Linked DNA regions of Homo sapiens: region 1 is linked to region 2. Evidence: promoter capture Hi-C in 16 types of primary human blood cells and fetal thymus (Javierre and others, 2016). All regions are on one chromosome and are shown on one strand. Each heading gives the region's core, a stretch centred on a gene start or on the middle of the fragment in contact. The rest is flanking DNA. Distances are from core to core; before and after follow the strand shown. Region 1 has its middle 50 kb from the start of CST5. Region 2 holds the start of APMAP (adipocyte plasma membrane associated protein).

Region 1 (6,095 bases), core at 534-3,033, 1.1 Mb before region 2:
CTCCAGGAACTCGGGTTGCTAGCTGGGGCAGGCTGGGCTGCGCCTGACTCCCTGGGCTGCAGACTGCAGGGGACTGGCCTCAAGGGAAACAGATGGCTCTGAGCGGGAGAGCAATCCCCTTGGCATCTCTGGGTGGTCAGACTTTCTTATCCTGTTTGGGTCACTGCTGGGATTTCCCTGTCACTGTTTGTGTAACCTTAAATATCAATTCCTTTAGCAAAGTGCAGTGACTGTGGAGAGTGGTTCCTGTTCCTGGTTGGAATCCTGTTCAACTCAATCACTGAGTGCTGGAGCTGGAGCCAGAGGCCATCAGGACAGCCCTGCCTGCTCCTGTGGCCCTGCCTGCCCTTTCCTCCTGTCACAGAGGGGCTGGATCCAGAGATAAGACTCACCTTGACCAAACCTTAGTTAAGCTCGTCTGAGCCACCTTCTTCCCTTGGCCTCAACCCTAGTCCCCAGCCCCTACCTCCTGCTCTTGCGAGGGCTGCAGTGCCCAGGTTTAGGAAAGAATCCTGCTAAGTCAGTTCAGAAAGAATCCCCTCACCCTTGGTATCTGATCACCCTCAACATCTGACCAAGTTCCTCATTTCTCAACTTTGATGTCTAAGGCTTTGTCCTGCCTTTAGCAAGAATATTGTTAGGTCAATTTAGCAAGAAACTCCCACATTTGATGTCTCTGCTTAGTAATTTTTTTTAATCTATTAACCCTGCTCCCTGCTCCTTGGCTATATATCCTCACTTGCCCTTTTTATATTCATAGTTGAGCTCTCTCTCTTTTATTGTGAGAGTGTTGACCCTATTGCAATTATCTTGAGTCATCTCAACCAAGCTCAGGCTTCCAGCAGTGAAGCTCCTCATTGCCCTGCCCATGATGTTATCACTGGATGTCCTGCAGGCATCACCAGTTCTGTATGTCCATTGACCTTCATTTTGCCCATAGACCTACCCTTCGACTAGTGTCCCCATCTGTGTTAGTAGCCCCATCCTTGCCCATGGCTGTGACAAGAGATATATTTGTGACAAGATATTCATTCTCTTGGTGCTTCTGTTTCCTGATTTGTAAAACAGGAATGACAATGATTACAATAGGCTGTGTAATAAGGAACTGCATGATCTCATTGGCCTATGGCAATGACCAGTTATTTTGCTCACATCTGCAGTCCAGCTGGGAGTCACTGACCTGGAATGGGATTGTCTGAGCTGGCTCTGCTCCACATCTGTGATCCTTCTCCAAGGAGATAGCTGACATTTTTCATATTCTCGCATGGCAAGAGCAGGGTGCAAGAGGGCAAGCTGAATTGCACAAACTTGTTTCAAACTTCTGGTTACTTCACACCTTTGGTTAAACTCCTTTGGTTAAAGCAAATCACACGGCCCAGCCCAAAGGAAGTGGTGCAGAAGTGCACTTTGCCATGGAGAGTGGGGTACAGGGAGTGAGTATTTTGAACAAATAGATTTAGTGTCAGGAAAACTAAATCAAATGCTTGTGAGTTGATAGTGCAGTGCCTGACATACCTATTGATTGATCAATTGATCTCATCTATCTAATCTATGTATATATCTATGTATCAAATCTATGTATCTGTCCATATATCATGTTTCCACTCTATTCCTCATCTTTCCCCAGACAATAATAATTAAAGTCCTGTAAAATTCTCTGAGTTGTATTTTCTTTCTTTTTTTTTTTTTTTGTTCTTCACATTGCCACAGCTATGAGAACGCTCATGGATGTCTTGTGACTGTCTGATCTTTGAGGAATCTTCACTCTACTCTGTGCCTCCACTCCTGTGCTGTCCTACCCACCGCAGCAAATCAGATTGTGATCCTTGGTTCACAGCCTCCCATGGCTTCCGAGTGTCCTTAAATTGAAACTCTGATGAGTACTTGGCATCTAAACCTGTCCCTACCCTCCCTTGTGCCTCCTGCAGGCAAGTGGGCTCTGGCCTGGCCTGAACTTTGGGCTGAGAGTCTGGACTGTTCTGCACCTAGAAATTTGCTCACAATCCTGAGTGCACCTGGTCCTGCACCTGTTTAAGATTTTTTGAAAGGCTCACCCTCCGGGGGCAGCTTGATGGGTTTGATAGTTCTAGTGCTATAGAAAGAGGATGCAAGCCGGTGAGAAGGCAGATGGAGAGCATGAAATGTAGGCTGGATTCAGAAGGAAAGGGCTGCCCTCCAGCCGCCCCATGGCAGTTGCAGACACCAGCAGAAACCACAGTCTATGGGGGAGGGGATTTTCCCCCTCTCTACCCCACATGGGGTGGACTGTGGGTCTTTGCTGGGAGAGCTGTTCAGAGCATCCTGTATGCATTACCTGCTGCTGCATCAGCAGCCACCCTGAATTTTCCTAGCTGAAAGTCACGTAATGTATGGATTCTCACGACTCTGGAGCTGTCCTCGGCTCTTGCGCTGGTCTTGCTGGGTTCACTCGCGGGCTGCATTCAGGTGAGGTAGGCTGGGAATGTGCTCAGCAGGCACAGTGGGCATCTCTTTCCAGGTGGTCTTTTAGCCTTAAGAAGGTTAGAGGATGCTTTCACATGAAGACGAGTTCCAAGATCTTATTTCAGGAGCTCAGCGCCTAGGTGTGGCCCGGCCCCAGCCATTGCAGACTCCTGCCAGCCGTTGTCTCATTCATCAAAGCAGGTCACGTGGCCAAGCCCAGCCTCAGAGTGGGCGGGGCCTCACAGAGTGAGAGGCGAGGCCCCGTGCATTGTGGTTGTTTCCTGTGTCTACCTCCGCTCCCTGCACAGAATCCAGGAGAGAGATGTGAGCCTGGACCAGTCTGATGTCGAAAATACAGATTTTTATAGATGGCTGTTTGAGGAAAATTTGGCTTCCTGTAATATCTGGATTGAGATGAGGTGTCCAGAGGAAGGCACTGAAGCTCAGGAGTCAGGAGCTGAGTTTACCCCGTCCCTCTCCAGGTTGGCTTAGAAAGTTCTAAATATCTGAGAAATAATCAAACAAAAATAGGGTAGCCAATATGGGAGTCCCCAGTCCTGCTTCTGTTGTTTCTCTCCTGCATCACTTCATCGAAACTAAAGGTGGATTCCAGCTTCTTTAAATATTGTTTTCTTACCTAAAGCAGTAGCCCTTCCTAGGTCCTTCTCATGCCCTTGGCTTCTCTATTTTTCAGCATGTCACTTTCTGGTTAGGGCGTGGTGTATGAAGGAGAGCTGGGCTCTTCTTCCCACATTGCTTTGCTGTTCTGATGTAATGTTTGGGTCCAGCACCTCAGCAGTGAGGAGAGCACACAGGCGATCAGGATCACTTATGTGTATCTGGGAAGAGTTAAATGCTGTCTTGTGTCTCCCAGATATGGGCACCAGTCAGGAATTGCTAAAAGGAAACAATTAAACCTCTTGTTTCTAGTCTTTCCAACAATTACTTTATGAGATAGTTTGAATATACACCCCCATCAAATCTCATGCTGAATTCCAGTCCTGTGTTGGAGGTAGAACCTGGTGGGAGGTGTTTGGGTCATAGTTTCTGATCCCTCATGGCTTGGTGTTGTCCTCACAATAGTCAGTGAGTTCTCTAGAGATCTGGTTGTTAAAAGTGTGTAACATCTTCCTCTAGGTCTCTCTCTTGATCCTTCCCTTCGTCCTGTCTATCTAGAAAGAGGGACCAGGAAAGGTCACTCTGAGGATGTGGCATGGGAGCTGGACTCTGCAGGAGGAGAAGCAGCCAGCTGCACCAACCCAAGGGTGGGGTGTTTCTGGTCAAGAACAGCCTGAACTGACCTTGAGGCAGAAATGATCTTAACCTGTGGAAGCTCCTGAATGGAGTGTCAGGGACCGGCAGGCAGGAGAGGTAAGAAGACCGGGTTTGGTGGATGAGCAGATGTCAGTTCCCACCACGAGGAAGAACTCCTATTTTATTCAAAATGCAATGAGAAGCCTTTGAAATGATTTACTGGGACATAGCATAACACCTTATATGTTATTAGAAGGCTGACATGGCCACACAGAGGGAAAAAAGCTTTTAGTCAGTGAGAATGGGAGGGTGGGGGACAGTCAGGAGGACATTGTAGTCATCCAGGAAAGGGAGGAGAGTGACCTGGGCCAGTGCAGTGGCCAAGAGGTGGAGCACAGGAGACTCAGGATGCCTGTGAGAGGTGGCATGGCAGGACTTGCTGAGGGCTGGGGTGAGGGTGCAGAAGGAAGGAAAAAAACAGAACTCTAGCCCAGGCCTCATGACGGGGCAGGAAAATTACTAAGCTTGAGGAGATATGAGGATGAGCAGATTGTCTGGGCTTGGGCCTCAGGGAAAATTTGAGAGCGTCCTTAGAGATTGTTGGGACATCATGTGTGTAGAACTGTGGATGTCAAATGCCAGCCCATAGATCTATTACTGAAGTGCCAGGGGCTTAGTCTAGGATTCATTGCTTGCAGCACAGGAAGCCAAACACTGAGACAACAAGTATTGTCAAGGAAGAAGGCTGTAATCAGGTGCTGCAGCTAAGAAGATGGAAGGTCAGTCTCAAATCCATCTCCTCATATGACTAAAATCAGGGATTTAAATAGCAGGGGAGAAATGTGCTCATATTCAGGAAAACAGGATTAGGGAAGTGTAAGGAATAGGAAATTGTAAGCAGGAATCATGATGGGTGAAGGTCCTGGCATCTCATTGTCCAGATGCTGTGATCTGGTGAGTGTCAGTTCCCTGATGCTATCTGGGAGCCCTGAAGTCTGATTTCCTGAGCAAGGAACTCAGAGAAGGCACATGTGAGTTTCTCAAGTTTTAAGACTGAAAGGGTCAATATCTGTGTTTATTCAAAAGAAACCATAAATATCAGTTCTATGGGCCAGTTGGGCCAGTTTCAACCCCCTTTCTATGTATCGATTTCCAAATCATGGGGAATCTGTTCATTGATCTTTCTGACTGCCTCATGCTGAAGACAAGGGTTGTGGGATAGGGGCTAAGAGCCAGCCCATTTCTGGGGGCTATTGTATGCTCAGCAGTGCAAAGAGCAAGACCTATTTCCAGGTAAGATTTGTCTCTTGGCAACTGGGGTCCCCTTGGCCACAAGTGAGTTTGCTAAGTTGGTGGGGGGTCTTAGAACTTTATTTTGTCCCATACTATTGCTGGAGTGGTATACTACACTTCCTGCCATGGTTCATCCTGTTCCTCAGTGGAAAGCCTATGGCCAAGGGACTTACAGTCAAGAGACTTCCAGCCAATTAAATGTTCTAGGCCAGACAGCAATGGAGCTGGGCAGCTTCTCATAACCCCTCAAACACCCTTTAAGTAACTTAAGAGCTAAAAACTAAAAGCCTAAAAGTAGGGTTGCAGAATTTCTTGTGACTCAAAAGGAATTGCCTTTGCCATTCAAGGGGCCTCACCCTGACCTGGGAGGCCCAGCCCCCCAGGCTCCCAAGCTGAGTTGTGTCTTCAGCATTGGCCAAGAGTAGTGAGTTCTTTTAAAGGTCTATGTAAGGACACACACAGCCACCAAAAAATAACATACGTAACTAAACGTATCCTTCAGAATCAGCCCTTACAATCTCACATGCTCAGCTCTTCCACGACAGTGCCTGGGCCTAGAAGGACTGAATTGTTCTAATTTCTGGCTCTGTGTCTCATGAAAGCAGTTCATTTTGATTGCCACCTTCTCCTGACTCTGAGGATGAGGCTTTGACTAGTGTCAGTGTTCAACATTTAGCAAGAGTTGATGCCTTTTTCAGACCTAGGAGTCAAAGCCCTATAACTTAACAGTACAAGGATTAGTTAATAGGACATTTATCAAAGATGCTAAAAGGCTCAAGACAGTTGATCAAAACAGAATCATAGGTCATTGTAAAATAATAGTTATTCATTTAACCAAAGTGATCACCAAAAGACTTTAAAAGCAATGTAGAAATAAAATTAGAGTAAAGGGGCACTCTACCCATAATATACAGATAGATGACTTTTGCTGTAAAAATAAGTTTCTGTCTACAACACAAAAGATCAAGTATACTATATACATTGTGATAAAAACAGAAGCCAAAGCTTAATGAAATGTTTATAGACAAAAAAAAGAATATTTAGAAATGTGTGCTTCCATTTACTAATACTGCAGAAAGTTCCATCATTCTCTCCAATATGTCATA
Region 2 (7,048 bases), core at 1,405-3,904:
AGTACAATTAAGTTTCTAAAGCATTTCGGGAAATCAATGTCAAATAATAATTATAAGCTTGCACCGGTATGTTAAAGTACTTAGCTCATCTATGTTCCACACTGAATAAAAGAATTTACCAACCAAATTCTCCATTATATTTCAAATACAGTAATTCAAGAGCTTTGGCATAAAGTCTTATTTCCAAAGCATAATTTTAAAAATACACTTCTCAGTCATTGTCCAGCTGCCAGTTCTATCCTTCTTCATTCATTTTCATTTCTCTTTTGACTCTATTCTCTGTAACTTCATATAAACCACCTCACACACATAGACCTCAATGATCTCATCAGCAAAACAAAGCAAACACCCACCTTTTGTGCCAAGAGTTGGGAGACCACCCAACGTATTACTAGGGGTCCCTACCACTGCTAAAATCTATGTCTTAGTTCTGTCAGTTTAGTAATATGTCTTTCAAGGCTTCCTTTATTCTATTTAGCACATCTAAAGTGCTAAAGTTTATTCTAATAGTTTCGTGTTTTTACTTCTGAATTTAGATTCCTTTACTTCGCCCACTATACACAGGCTTTCCTGGCTTATGTTGAACCCTCGACTTTTAAGGTAATCAAGAATACTATTACATGAACTACTAGAAATGACCACAAAATAAATGAAAAATATAGGAGAAATGCAGAAGAAAAATAAGAAAAACAGCTACCATGTTACAATAATAATTGCGGAAAGGAAGGGTGGTGACAAGACCTCACTTTGAAAGAGATCATTACAGATATACAGAAAAGGGATAAACAAACAAGAAGGACAAACACAGGGAAACAGGAACAATGTTCATGGACAGGGAAGTCAAGGAAATAAGTAAACATAAATGTAAAAGGCACACTGGAAAAGATCAGGCAGTAAAAGATGACTTTAGAATCAGATTTACTTACTCATTAAGGAAGAAATCCCCACAGAGAACCTGAAAAAAACAATTAAGTCTGCCTGCTTGCCCTGGGGCCAGAAGTGTGAGCCAGCCAACTTGAGAGTTGGGACTACCTAACCGGTGCCCTCAGGGGCTGTAGGCCCTGGTTTTCAACACACTGCACCTAATGACAAACTCAGGCCACTGCTCTTCCATTTCTCAGGTAAAAATGCCTTGTTTTCAAGATTTCTGTAGGAAAGTGTTGCCAATTCTTGCATGTCCATTCTAAATGGCTCCTCAATCATCAACAGATGATTAATTCACAATATTCACAGTAAGTAGGGTGATCAGATTGTCCCAGTTTGCCCAGGTTTAGCACTGAAAGTTCTACATCCTTGGAAACCCCAGTCCAGGGCAACGCAGGATGGTTGGTCAGGATATATGGGAGCATCTTCCCGATCTTTTCACTGGCCCAAGGAGTCAACTATCACCGCAAAGTCTTCTCTCTAAATTGCCTCTCTAGAGCCTAAATGCTCCTTCCTGCCATCGCTCTCCTTCAAATGTGTTCCTCTTATCATCAGTCAATAAACTCAGTCTACAGGGGCAAAAACTGCCTCTCATTCATATGTACCCCACCACCTCTTGGCACACTACTGATGAACAAATATTTCCAGTATTTCTATCAAATATAAGTCAATCAGTCCCACAACTTCAAGCTTGGTCTATGGGGCCTCTTGATTCTCCCTGAAACTTAAAAGTTATGAAATTCAGGACACAGAATTGAAAAGTGAATTTTAAGTATCTTATATTGAAATCTATGCTTACGAATCATGATTCAGTTTTTAGCTAACAAAACACAGCATTCTTATATTCTGAAAGATGGGAGAGGAGGCAAAGGGCAAAACCTGATATTTCTTAGGTGTCAACAACTACAGTTTCCTATGTTTCTCCATCCCTATCAGGAAAAACTGCCAGGCTGAATTCTCACAAAAATTGCCTACAATGTCACTACTGTTCTCCACTCTTTCCAAGAACCGCGGTGAGGACTGGTCACGCAGCGTGAGGGGGGCAGGTGCAGAAGAGCAAGTGTAGAAGCCATCTCTTCGCCGGATAACGAGGCAGGACCCCAGCATCTCGTGGGACCTCCTCCCTTCGGGAAATTGCGAGCGGGGAACCAGGAACACGCAGGGCCCCGGCCAAGTAGCTGTGCTCAGGGGGATCATTTAAGCCAAAGGAAGGACAGCGCGAGGGGAGCGAGGGAAAGGCGAGGAAGCAACCGCTATGCAGGGTGGGGCAGGAGTGAGGGAGGGAAGGCAAAGGAGCGGCGCGAGGCGGTCTCGGGTCCGGAGAGCCGAGGACAACGCGGCGACTGGGCGCAGGGTGCACCCGAACCTGAAAGACCTGGCAGGTACATCCGCCTTGTCGGAGCCTGCTTCCTCGGAAAAATGAGTTTTTCTTGGGGATGAAACGAGAGGACTCTGACAACGCGCTCGGCACCGCATCCCCAGGTTACTGTTACTGCCGTCGCCGCTGTCCAAGAGGGTCGCCCTCCACTCCTAGCGGCCCGGCTCCAGCGCCCAGTCTGGGAGTCCGCCCTACCTGCCGTCCTTAGCCTCCGGGGCCTGGCCATCATCGTCTGTGACGACCTGCGGCCGCAGGGGCCGGCGCTGTCGCAGCCCGTCCGCCTCGCTCATGGTACGGGCGCCAGCCTCACCCGCAGAAACCACCTCACACTGAGCGGCGCCGGCTCAGACTCCAGGCCCGCCCTCCCCCGTACGCGGAAATGACGTTGCGCCCAGGGACCATTCCGCAGCGTTCTCCCCGCCCCTTCCGGCCTCATGGGCGGGAGGTCCCCGGCGCGTCGTTGCTCGGCGCTCTGAGGCTAATTCTGACCGCCCGGAAGTGGGGCTCGGAACCCGCTCAGAGATAGCACCGGGAGCTGCCGGGGTCCCCGCCTGTCTCGGACTCCGGGGCCCAGAACGCGAGTGGTTCAACCTCGGGCTCGTCTAGCCCAGTGCCTGCGCATGCCGCCTTCGTCTCACGTTTCTGAGGACGGGGATGCTCATGACGCACTTGGGAATTGCTAGCACGAGATGTTGGCCACTTTTATCGTTGGAGAGGATAGCGCTGTTTATTCAGTGTCAGCGACCCTGCTCTTACAGGCAGCGTCAAAAATAATGCATTCACACCCTTGGAACGAAGTCACCTCTGCCTGAAAATTACATCCTTCCCCGACTCAGCCGGTTAAGGGGAAAACTTGGGCTAGAAAATGTTTCCCTCTGGTTAAGGCCAGATGTTGAGTATTAAATCTTTTTGTGACGATTACAACAGACATTTGATAAAGTTTATTAAGTTTTGATAAAGTTTATTAAGTTTTGATAAAGTTTATTAAGGATTACCCTTAAGTAAAGTCCAGGTAGAAGTAGAAATTATCACTAACAAAGTTTAAGAAAGCATAGAGAGGCATTGTTCTTTCAACAGTATTGCAGGAAACCAGAAATGTTCCCAGGTGCTGGGAGACGATGGTGGGCAAATCACAGACAAGGCCCCTCCTTATAGAAATTAAACTAGTGGGAAAGATGACTTTAATCAGATCATCATCATAAAATAGACGTAAAATTATCAAACGTAATAATTGCTTCAAAAGGGAAGAGCTGAATCTTGTGAGAGCATTTGAGATTCAAAGAGGAATCGAATCTGGAGGAAGTGACAGGCAGAAGAAATCAAAGCCCGTTACCAGTGGCACGAGGAATTATCTCTGGAAAAGCCATGTTCAAAATGCAGTGTTAAGAAATAATTTCCTCTTGGAGGCTTTTACCTTTTTAAATGCTAGATGGCACTAGAATTCCATGTGAATGCTTTTTATTTATTCATTCAAAGAGCGGAAGAACCAGCTTGAGGGAAGTGGAGAGCTGTGCAAATCCAGTTCTCCAGAGATCCCAGGTAATAATTCAGGCCTCGACAACATTTTACTTCATTCTGTGTCATTGAGAATAGCCAATACAGCTATTAAATCAGGGATAGTGTTAACAAAGTACTGTATGATCTCACGCCTTCCTGCCTGTCTGGACTATCCCTCTTGCTCCCCACCCCCCATTTCAGACATTCAGGATGGCTTAACATGTCTAATCTCATGCCTGGCTGCCTTTGTCCTTGAGGTTCCTTCTTCCTGTGATACACTCTCCTTCACCTCCACTTGGCCAATTATTTTTATCATTCAGGACCCACTTCAAGTATCCTTGCTGAAAATTCTTCTCCCAGTTTCCCAAGCAGAACATCTTCCTCTTTGTCTTCAAGGCACTTTAAACATGTCCCAGCCATAACATTGAACTCACTGCATTGGAGCTATTTGTGTTCCATGCCCAGTGTTAAAGCCCACGCACTGCAAACACCCAGGGACACATTCAGAAGAAAAATAATGGCAGTAAGTTGGGTTTACTGAACTTGCTGCAGCAAAGAAATGCACCAGAGGACCGGTGAGGTTCCTCAAAATGGGGGAGTCATGGGAGACTCCTTGTGGGGTTTGGGGGCTGGAGTTAGTCCATCGATAGTCTTGCCCAGGGTTGGTCAGAATCCGTTAACAACGGGAGTCACTGGAGGAACCGTGGCCTTAGCTCTGGGACATGTAAGTCCATTCGGAGTTATCAGGAGGTCAGCTCGTGGGCTTATCATGAAGCACGTAGGTAGTTGGTGTTACAGTGGTCTGAGCTAGATCATTTGTGCTGCATAGCACGGGTTCAGTACAGTTTTTCTGTTTTCAAGTCACGGTGAAGCACGCTTTGCTTGTTGTATTTGTTTCAGTTATCAGTTCTCCCACCCCACCTTCCAACCAGACCGACTTTGTTTCTCATCGTGCTGATGCCAGTTGTTGGCAGAGGAATGGGACCACTATGATTAATTTGATCAGGTTTCTCAGCACCACTGATATTTTGGGCCAGATAATTCTGTTAGGAGGCGGAGGGGGGCCTCTCCTGTGCGCTGGTGTTTCAGCAGCATCCCTGGGCTTCCCCCACTAGATGGCAGTAGCATCCCACCTAGTCGTGATGATAAAAAATGTTGCCAGACATTGACAGATAGCCCCTGGAGGACAAAACAGCCCTTGGTTGAGAAGCGCTGAGTGAGACCAACCAAAACCCACACCCAACCCTGGCACTGGGGATGAGGCTCACTTCCATCGGAACACTGGCCCACGTGGAGGGCATTTATCTCAACAAAAGCAGGCTCTGCCAGCATGGAAGAAGAAGCGCATGATGCTGGCAGGGAGCCCACAGTATGCCTCGCAGCTCAAACCAGAAGCAAACCCTACTTCTAGTCCAGTGCTTTTTCCCAGTCCCATGCTGTTTCAACTCCTTCCACAGAGATCTCCTGAAAGCCTGCCAGATGCCAAGTGCGGTGACAAAACAAGGGTGAAATACAGTGATCCAGCCTGCACAGGCGTTATCATCTTGGAGGGGAGAGAGGAAGCGTAACGAACGACACTATAAAGCACTGCTGCAGAAGAGCTGCAGGGTACCTTGGGGCTGCAAGGAGGAACAAGTGCTATTAGATGGGACTGACCAGAGATGTCTTCTTGGAGGAAGGGGCTTTGCACCAGGACTTAGATAAATAAGATTATAATGGCGGGGGGAGGGGGAGGTTGGGGGATAGAGAAGGACAAGAAACAGGCTAAGAGGGATGAGTGGGGTGCCCAGGGATTGTTAAACAAGGGGGTGATGATCAGGGATGGACATCAGGGTTACTGAGTGATCAGAAAGAATAGCCACAAATATATACGCCTGTTATGTACCCACAAAAACAAAAAATAAAAATAAATATTTTTAGCAAAGAAAGAATAGTCTGAAAAGGGCAAAGCAGAGCAGGAAGTAGCTGAACCCCTTCTTCCCCACAAGTCCAGGAAAGCACAGAAGGCGCTGCCAACTCGGAAAAGGGCTGCAAGGGAAGTTGTTCTGTCGTGGTGGGATGTCGTGGTGGGAAGCTCCAGTTTTAATTCAGGTGGGACAGTGGAGACAGTAAACTTAGGCAATGTACACTAGTTTGTTCACCGCAGGAAAAGCACCTTAGAGACCATGCAGCTACCAGAAACAGACATCCACCAAAGCTGGCGGAGAATGAGGGAGGGATGCATTGGAAGGATCTGGGGATACCTTATGGAACTCAGGCTCAGAAAGTACAGCCAGGCCTCACAGGGACTGGAACAAAGACCTGGGAACACAGGGGCAGAGTCACCCTCTGCCTCCTGGTGCCTCACACTGTCCTGTCTCTGCACCCCTCCGTGCTCACATGGCACGCCCTGCTGGGCTGGCCCTTTCTCTTTTGTTGCCCTCCCCTGGAGAGCTGGAAAAGATCAGTGTTACTCATCCAGCTGTCAAAGCTAATGCAGCCATAGGCAGTATTTTGGCACAAGATAAAAACAGAAATATAGTGACTATTTTGAACTTTAGGAAAGTTTTTGCATTTCTGATAAAAGGGACAAATGGGACTAGCACTGCCCCTTCTTCTCCTGCCTGGAACCCGAGAGTTAAGCATGGAGCAGCAGCATCTTAACACCACAGGAATACACCTTGATGTCTAAAAAACACACCCAGAACAGAAGAGCCTAGGTCCTTAATGGTGCCCCTGAGCTGTTCACCACAGCCAGCAACCACCTACCTCAGGGCTGCCTATCACATGAGAGAAACAGTCCTTTTATGCATTGAGGCAGCTCTCAGGGGAGCAATTTGCACTGCTCCTCAGGGCCAACAGGCTAGCATTGTCTACCTGGACATATCCATGGTGAAAAAGCATCGCCTAAGCCCAACTCTCCCTGGCTCTCCCATTTCAAGTATCCCACACCAACTAACTATGGTCTCCGTCTCCAAGTCTTGATTCCTGGACTGAGAATCTGATGTTCCCAACTTTGGTGAGGTTGATGATCCATGTTAGAGGATAAGACCCCGTGGCCCATTGACCATTCAACGGGAACAACACAGCAGCCTCCCTGTTGTAGGCAGAAGGGCAGGACAGGCTCACTGAATGCGTGGTCACCCCATGAGAAGCAGGGAGGAGCAGAGGTGAGCACTGAAGAGAGTCTGGCCAGGAAAATTGCCCTAATTGCCCACGTGGAGGATTCTTAAGGTCGACCTAGACTTGGCAGGAAAAGTGCTCAGGAGG

The links. Contacts are between HindIII fragments. The CHiCAGO score rates a contact against its expected background, and 5 or more counts as called.
Region 1: a fragment that was not itself captured here is called in contact with the fragment with the promoter of APMAP in region 2 in 3 of 17 cell types (non-activated CD4 T cells, naive CD8 T cells and activated CD4 T cells); the score reaches 6.9 in non-activated CD4 T cells.

What each region holds. Positions count from the first base shown.
Region 1 is chr20:23,926,300-23,932,394 of GRCh38, forward strand. No RefSeq gene overlaps it. Among named protein-coding and RNA genes, the nearest start is that of CST5, 50 kb to the left of the region's middle. The HindIII fragment of the contact is 4,392 bases long and covers 1-3,979 here.
Region 2 is chr20:24,990,097-24,997,144 of GRCh38, forward strand. It overlaps APMAP (adipocyte plasma membrane associated protein), which reads right to left and starts at 2,655. Exons shown (of 9, transcript NM_020531.3): 1 at 2,498-2,655. The coding sequence starts at 2,592. RefSeq lists enhancers at 2,208-2,708, 2,267-2,326, 2,347-2,426, 2,557-2,796, 2,709-3,209 and 1 more. The HindIII fragment of the contact is 12,703 bases long and covers 1,613-7,048 here.